Linked DNA regions of Homo sapiens: regions 2 and 3 are each linked to region 1. The links are contacts of gene promoters, found by promoter capture Hi-C in blood cells and fetal thymus (Javierre and others, 2016). All regions are on one chromosome and are shown on one strand. Each heading gives the region's core, a stretch centred on a gene start or on the middle of the fragment in contact. The rest is flanking DNA. Distances are from core to core; before and after follow the strand shown. Region 1 holds the start of FAM177B (family with sequence similarity 177 member B). Region 2 overlaps AIDA (axin interactor, dorsalization associated). Region 3 overlaps DISP1 (dispatched RND transporter family member 1).

The links. Contacts are between HindIII fragments. The CHiCAGO score rates a contact against its expected background, and 5 or more counts as called.
Region 2: a contact is called between a fragment that was not itself captured here and the fragment with the promoter of FAM177B in region 1, in 1 of 17 cell types (neutrophils). The highest score is 5.6, in neutrophils.
Region 3: a fragment that was not itself captured here is called in contact with the fragment with the promoter of FAM177B in region 1 in 2 of 17 cell types (total B cells and naive B cells); the score reaches 6.2 in total B cells.

Annotation. Positions count from the first base shown.
Region 1 is chr1:222,735,917-222,738,616 of GRCh38, reverse strand. FAM177B (family with sequence similarity 177 member B) reads right to left here and starts at 1,415. Exons shown (of 6, transcript NM_001394345.1): 1 at 1,295-1,415; 2 at 596-713. RefSeq lists an enhancer at 1,632-2,173. The HindIII fragment of the contact is 3,071 bases long and covers 1-2,463 here.
Region 2 is chr1:222,670,490-222,673,211 of GRCh38, reverse strand. The region is part of intron 8 of AIDA (axin interactor, dorsalization associated); the gene reads left to right. Among named protein-coding and RNA genes, the nearest start is that of AIDA, 41 kb to the left of the region's middle. The HindIII fragment of the contact is 4,852 bases long and covers 1-2,722 here.
Region 3 is chr1:222,826,401-222,829,104 of GRCh38, reverse strand. The region is part of intron 1 of DISP1 (dispatched RND transporter family member 1); the gene reads right to left. Among named protein-coding and RNA genes, the nearest start is that of DISP1, 13 kb to the right of the region's middle. The HindIII fragment of the contact is 376 bases long and covers 1,258-1,633 here.

The DNA of each region.
Region 1 (2,700 bases), core at 166-2,665:
TCGACCTCCCACAGGCACGTGCCACACGCCCAGCCTTTTTTTTTTTTTTTTTGCAGTTTTTGTAGAGACGGAGTCTCCCTATATTGCCCAGGCTGGTCTTGAACTTCTGGACTCAAGCGATCCTCCTGCCTCAGCCTCCCAAAGTGCTGGGATTACAGGCATGAGCCACTGCGCCCGGCTCAGTTTAATTCTTGGGAGCACCTCTACCTTTTGTTTCTTAAAAACCCCAAATACAGACTATGAAGGATAGTTCCTAAGTATATAATGTAATTAACAGGCCATATAATCTCTCTGACCTTTTAAATATTGTATTACCCCAGGGCTCAGTGATTGGACCTCTTCTCTTTCCTATCTGCTTTCTTGATGATCTCCTTTGGCCCTGTGGCTTTCAATACTATCCACACACAGATGATTGTAACATTTATATTCTCCAGGTCAGACTTTTTCCCTGAGTCTCACAGATCCAACTACCTGCTTGACATCTCTTCTTAGTTGTCTAATGGACATCTCAATCCTAATTTGTCTAAATCTTTGCTCATGCTTTCAGTGCAACTCTCCCTCCATCCCCCCAACACACACATACTCACACATTTACCTCTACTCTTCTGGCAGCCTTCTCATCTCAATAAATGGCAACTCTGTTCTTCCAGTTGCTCAGGCCAACAACACTAAAGTCATTCTTGGTTCTTCTTTAATCACACCTCACATCAAATCTGCCAGGAAATTGTCTTGGATATTTCTGGAATCATACTTTTCATTACTCCACTGCTACCACCCTGGTCTATCATCTCTCACCCTTGCCGTCGTCTCTCACCTAGATTATTGCAGCAGCCTCCTAATTGGCCCCCTCCAGTCTACGCTCGAAAAGGAGCCAGAATTGTTAAATCCTAAGTGAGACCATGTCATGTCTTTGCTTAAAACTCTCCAGTGGGTTCCCGTCTCACCTAGAGTAAAAGCCAAACTCCTCATAATGGCCTACAAGGCTGTATACCTAACCCCTACGAGCTTTCTGACGCCATCTTGTACTACTCTCCCACCACTGACATCACTCTAACCCCACGGGCCTTCTTCCTGCAATTCCCTGACCACACAGGTCCGCCCTCTCTCTCTGCAGAGAGCTCTCTGCTGGCTGCTCTATTAGTCTTTCTTTCCTTAGACTGTTTCCTTGCTCATTTCCAGTCTTTAACTCAAATGGAGACTACACTGAGCTCCGCTTTCAAGGCAACCTCCCATTGCCTTCACCACCACCCTCTGCATCTTACCTCCTGTTTCATTTTTTCTCCTTAGCACTTACCAACACTGAACACTCCATATTCCACCTGTCTCTGTCTTCCCTTTCCTCCCTGTCCTGCCCCTTGGCAGAGGGGGAGGGTTTTACCTGTTATGTTCACTGCTGTATCTTCTGCCCCTATGATGCCTTACACGTAGCTGGAACTCAGTATTTGTTTAACAAATGAATCATACATTTAGTTAAGGTTAATGGGTGGGAGGAGTTATATAACAGATTGGAAAAATAAGAACAGACTTGTAACTGTCTTTATTTCCTGCTTTAGAAATTACTATCTTCATTTAATATTTTTCTGATTACATCTATCTACTAATCATTTCAATTAGCTCCTTCACTGAAACACAGCATTGTAATCTGTACCAAGAAAATAACACACTAGTTCTACATCTTGGCATTTAACTTCAATAAGTAAATATACTATTTTAAGTATGTAACACTTAAACATTTTCTAGAGCTCTTTCCATTTTCATTTATCTAGAAAATGTTTTCAAATGGACTGTTAAAATTCAGCTAAGAACTGATGTTGGGTCATTACGCTGGAGCTAATTAGCATTGCTTGCCTGGAGCTGCTGGTCCCCCTTCCTGCTTCCACCTTTCCTTTTTTCTGAGGTGGTTGAAAGGTCAAACCCCTGGTGAGAGGAGAGAACCAAAGCCCCACTGCGTGCCTCAGATGCAGAGTTTCACAGCGTGGTATTCACTGGGTATTCACCGACATTTCTCTAGGCCCCTTCACCTGAAGGAACTGGCCTGCTCCAATCAGTGACTTGCAGTGTGTGTGTCAGGGGCAAGGATAGAGTGAGGAAAAATGTGAAATAACAAATCACTGCCGCTCCTTGAGAATTACAGGAGCATCACCTGGCAGGATTTTTGTATCCTTATTTTCAGTATTAAACCACATACATGCACCCCACTGCCTGCATGCCTGTCCATGCCTGTCCCACTGTGGTGTTTCACAGCATTTTTTACATCATGGCAGATAGAGAAAATTAGTTGTTTGGAATTCTGGAGGCGACCAGCCTGGGAGCTCCAGCCACCTTAAGTGCTGCCCAGCTAGACACCCAGAAGGCTTCGATCAATAGCTTGAGACAAACTACTTGAGAAGCTCTGCATTAGAGAAGCAAATTCAAGTCTTGACATTTTCTCAGGGGAGTGCTCTGAAAGTGACTATATAAGCTTCTACCGACCTCAAGCAAATCACAGGCATTAGATACATTAAATTGCTGAAGTGATAGCTCTGGCTTTTTGGATATGCACAATCAAATATAGTTTTCTGTTTTATAATTTGTCAACTCCCCTTCCAGATTAACTATTTTGATCCCTTTATTACTATAACATTCTTAAATATTTAAATTTTAAGCAAATTATTCAAATGTCAAATAAAATCTTTAGATACAAACTTATGGTAACCCAAA
Region 2 (2,722 bases), core at 68-2,567, 65 kb after region 1:
GTAAATGTAACATAGTGTTTATTGATTTGAATAAATATACATATTTTTAAAATGTAGAAATTAGGAATTGTGTTATCTACTTGTCTAATAGCACTGTTATATAGTAAAACAATCTTTGATAATAAAATTTTATTGTCTTTACCAACAAAACAAAGTTTTTCACACACTAAAGGGCTGGGAGAAGCAGGAGTGCGTGAAGGTTCCCTGATGATTCAGTTTTCATCTTCAAATTAAGAACCAGGGTTTTCTCCCAGTATTTCTAGTTTGGTAGAACGATAACTTAACTTGCAGTTAATTGTTAGGAAATAGGAAAGGACAAAAGCAAATTTTTGAAATAGTGAGGCTACATTTCCAAGTATGATTCTTAGTATTAAATACTTCCCCATGCTTTTCGCCCAGTGGAAATTTGAGTGTTCTCCAAAAAGGTGACTTCAGAATCCCTTTATCACCTGAGGGTTCAGTTGCAGTTTCTGAAATGTTCAAGCTCTGTAGGATATTCAAGTCCCTTTTGAAGTGATTGCCTCGGCGTCTGAAATATTCGATATTTCACTTCTCAAGTCTGGTGCTGCTGCCTCCTCTGTTCCCCCACTAAAAGACCTTTCAGTGCTTCTGTTAGAACAGTGGTTCTCAGAGTATGATTCCTGGAACAGGAGCAGCACCTGGAGCCTTCTTAGGTGGCCACCCCAGACATCCTGAATCCGAAACCATGGGGATGGGCCTAGCAGTCTGTTTTAGGAAGCCCTCTAGGTGATTCTGACATACACCAAAGCTCCAGAGTCACTGTGTTAGAAGACTATGTATGTAGGAGGTGCTTAATAAATAACGTTGAAGAAATTTCAGTTACAAAGTATGTCTTCTGAACAAAACTATTGATTTGTTTCATTTCTTTAACTCCATTGCCTTAGGAAATGTTTGTGATGTGGACGGGAGAAGGTGGAGTGTTTCATGGGCTAACTTTTCTATTTTATTACACTGTGTTCTTTCTTAATGGCTCGACTCACTAGATAATAAAAGTAGAACTAGATTCAAAATTTGACTCTATTAATTTTTTCCAGCTTCAAACTTACTGTTTACTGTTACTGTAGTTTTAACTGATATTAGTGTTAATGACCATACTTTCATGTTTACAAACATTTTAACTTAATCTTCCCAGGATATTCCTGTTTCACATTTTGTTCTTTCTTATAAAAAGCATGATGAAGGATGCAGGAAATATATTATTTACAGGTGATACAGATTAATAATTTGTTTAACTTCCTCAAAATGATGGTAACATATTTGAACTTTAGTATTGTTTTGAAACGTGACTTTATCATTCACATTTATTCAGACCTCAAGACACGATCATGAGGAGGAGATGGGTTTCCTAGCAGAAAAGACTCTGCTGTCTTTAAAATCTTTGGTTTTCTAATGACAAAATGCCTCTGAGTGCTGTGGGAGGGAGAAGAGAAGCCACCATTTGTGGAAATGACAAGGTCACACACCTAGGGAAGAGATGTTACCAGTAACCTAACTATTGTAATCCTTTCGAGCGTGTTGGGAGTGGATGGCCAAATATGCCCATCTCTCCCTCACCCACATCCCATTGTCTCCTGAGCAATTGGTTTTTTTTTCCTCCCTTGCCATGTGATGTGGTCCATTTGGACCCAAGTGCCAATGCTGTACACACATTTCTGAACATTGCTAAACTTCTAGTGACTTGTGAGTTTTGTCATCAGCGGCAGTATTAAATGTATGTTGTCTTTGCAAGCCAAGCTCCTGGACTGCTCTGGTTAAGGCAGTATTTAGAAGTAGCTGGTGAAGAGTGAGACACTGACTTCCTTCACTTTCCATGCCTTCTTTAGAAATTCATTTTTGTTGGCCACATTGATGAGGCAACTTATTTCTCCATTTTTAGCTTTTTTCTGCAGGATTGGGGGAAGAGTTTATCTGTTGGACTTTGGGGACATAGGACCGTCTAAATTTCTTATTTTTTTCTTTTTTTGAGACAGAGTCTCACTTTGTCACACAGGCTGGGGCACAGTGGCATGATCATGGCTCACTGCAGCCTCAATCTCCCTGGGCTCAGGCAGTCCTACCAACTCAGCCTCCCGAGTAGCTGGGAGTACAGGCACGTGCCACCGAGCCTGGCTATTTTTAAAATTTTTTTTGTAGAGGTGGGGTCTTACCACCCCCTTGTTGCCCAGGCTGGTCTCAAACTCCTGGGCTCAAGTGATCTGCCCATCTCTGCCTCCCAAAGTGCTGGGATTACAGGCATGAGCCACCGCACCCGGCCAGAACTGTCTAAATTTCTCATTATCACTTGCTCATTGGAGGAGAGTGGCAGAATAAATAGATTTGCTCTTTGAACCTTTGTCTTCTACAGCACTGTCTTGACACAAACATGCAATTCCAGGAAAAACATCACAGCAGTGCTTTGAATACTGAAAAAGGTGTTAAGGAAACAGATAACATTTTCCAGCTGAGCCAGCATGTGATTTATGTTGTTTGAATTCCAAAATACCCCCAAGATTGAATTTTTGAGTTTTTGTTTTGGGGTAAGGGAAACAATTCGAGCTTAAATTTTTTTAGGAACTCTTTTAAATGCATTTTCTACCTAATGAGTCTCTATGTGTATTGAAGTATCTTCTCTGTTCTTCTGTGGCATTTCATATTTTATAGCAGCTTATGATTCTACCTGTGTACATAACTGTTATACATTCTTGAGGCAGTCTAGCTCAAG
Region 3 (2,704 bases), core at 196-2,695, 90 kb before region 1:
CAAAAGTGCTTTTTGGAAGTCCTCTGTTGCTTCTTCATCAAACAAATAGTTTATTTCTTATGACTCTAAATGAAAGAGTTTCATCAGTTTCTAGGAACTTATTTTAAAATAAATTTAAAAACATCCTCTACCCATCCCCCAGCCCACATGTTCAATACAAAATACTCCCATGAAGCACAATGACAATGTGGACTTTTATTTCTGGCAATGCAGCCCCATGGCTGGAGATCACCAAAAATTGTTGTATTTAAGTACTTAAAATTTTTTTTTAATGTATAGAAGAGCCAACAATAAAGTAAGAGAAATGCTCCAAGGGCAGAAATAATTTTTTAAAAAGTACAAGTCTAGAGAGGTGAGTTAGTGCTAAAGCGAATGTGCCCCTGGGGAATCTACATATTCCTGGTGGAATGAACCTGATGGGGAGGGGAGCTATAGAAAATAGGGTAATAGGCAGCAAAACTTGAGGGCCTGTACGAAATGGAGAGCCTGAGCAAAGACCATCTCACATAAAGCTCCTGAGGGAGTAAATTAAAAAACATTTCAGCTTACAATCGATACACATGAAGGAATGGTCAAGGGAAAAAAGGTTAAATGCATATGGGTAAATATAAACACTGTTATTTCTGGGGCTGAAAGATCAAGTCCCAAAACTATAATGTCTGATAAAAATAGTTCTTATCAGAAGGAGGTTCAGGAGAAGGATAAAGATTGCATTTACATTTATTTAGACTTTGTTAAGTATGCATATTAACATTTCTACGGTAACCATAGAGAAAAAAAGAAATAGAACAGAAAACTTCCAACACAGTTCAAAGGGGGGAAAATGGAATAAAAAACAAACAAACAAAAGATAAGTAGAAAGCATATGATATGGCAGAAAGAATTTAGGTCTTGGAGTCAGATATTCTGGGCATAAATCACAATTCTGCATATATTTCTTCTAACCACAGACAAGTCACCTGCTTTTAAAATTTCAGTTTCCTCATCTTTAAAAGAGGAATAATAATACAAACTTTTTAGCCTAGTATTTGAGTTAACATGCAAGTACACTATACCTAGTACAGTCTTCAAACAAAGATGCACAGACACCTTTTCCCGTCCTCTTCATTTCATGACACTGAAGTATGCTCAACCAGTGAGGAGGTCATTCTTTTAGGCTGCTGGATCAGACTATTTTCAGCTTGAGTATCACAACTATTACATAGAATTTTTCCTTGACTTTCTGTGTATTCCTTCCTTATTCAGGATTAAAAAGCTTCTAAATCAAATTATATGTAGTATCTCAAGTTTATTTTCCCTAAACTTTGCTTAAATATGTTTAGATTTTCACAAGATTAAGTTAAATCTAATGCAAATGCCCCTTCCACAGCAAAATGCCACGATTAACAATGCATATAAAATAAAACCCAGTTGTTGCTTTTTAGATAGCTAACTACCCCTGACCTCAGTTCTAGAAATAAAAAATGATTATTAATTATATAAATTTAAAGATGTATAACTTACCTGTTAATTAAAATTTGTCAAAGAATGAGCATGTAATACCAAAATTTGATAAAATAACATCTTGTTGCATGAAGATTATTTCGTGAGTTTAGAAATTGTACTCCCAAAATTAAAGTGTTCAGTAAAAGCTTAGTAAGTCAAGTATTCCCAGTAACAGTGTTATAAAAGTTGACTCTAAGAACAAAAAAAGTGAAAAATTTAATTCAATAACCCACATATGGATGATCCATGCCCCTACCCCTTTTTATAATTCTCCAAGGCCAATTTTAAATTCTGAGTGGAATTTTTCTCTTCAACACAGGATGTTTCCAGAATTCCACCATCTGTACATTTACAGAATAAAAATTATGTATCTAAGACAAACTTCAAATGGCAAATCTGTTCCTCAAATTATAATATAATCCAAAAGAAGTACTGTACATGCTTTAACTGTTTGTCTCTACCGGTACAGAAGACTAACTTTACAGCATATATGCCAAGAACTCATCAAGGTGACATAATCCTTTTACCTGAAATAAAAATGCTAAAGGCAGAAAACGTCTTGTGAGAAACCAACTGACAACCACTAAAACTAAAGATGAAAGTTTTATTAGAATAGAAATGGAAAACCTTGCAATATATACACATACTCTAATAGAAAATAACATGGGGGAATGTTATATGTAGAAATCTTAAATAGGGGCTGTATTATTTATGAAACAGGAGGCATCAGCTTTATAGTAAAGGAGTTAAGAGCTAAAACTCTGAAGTCAGATTGTCCAAATTCAACGGTTAAAGAAATTACATTTTAGTTAGTAGCTCCCTGATAGGAGTGGATAATTTTAATATCCATCACACAGCATTCAGCAGATATATAATAATGTAAAGACCAATACCAAACAACCACAAATCATTAAAAAATTCTTAAAGTGTAGGCCAGGTCTGGTGGCTCATGTCTATAAATACCAGGACTTTGGGAGGCTGAGGCAGGAGGCTCGTTTGACCCAGGAGTTTGAGACCAGCCTGGGCAACATAGTAGAACCCCATCTCTGTAAGAAGTTAAAAAACAAAAAAATTAGCTGAGCATGGTGGCACACACCTGTAGTCCCAGCTACTCAGGAGGCTGAGGCAAGAGGATCACTCGAGCCCAGGAGGTTGAAGCTGCAGTGAGCTGTAATCATGCCACTGCACTCCAGCCCAGGTGACAGAGTGAGACCCTGTC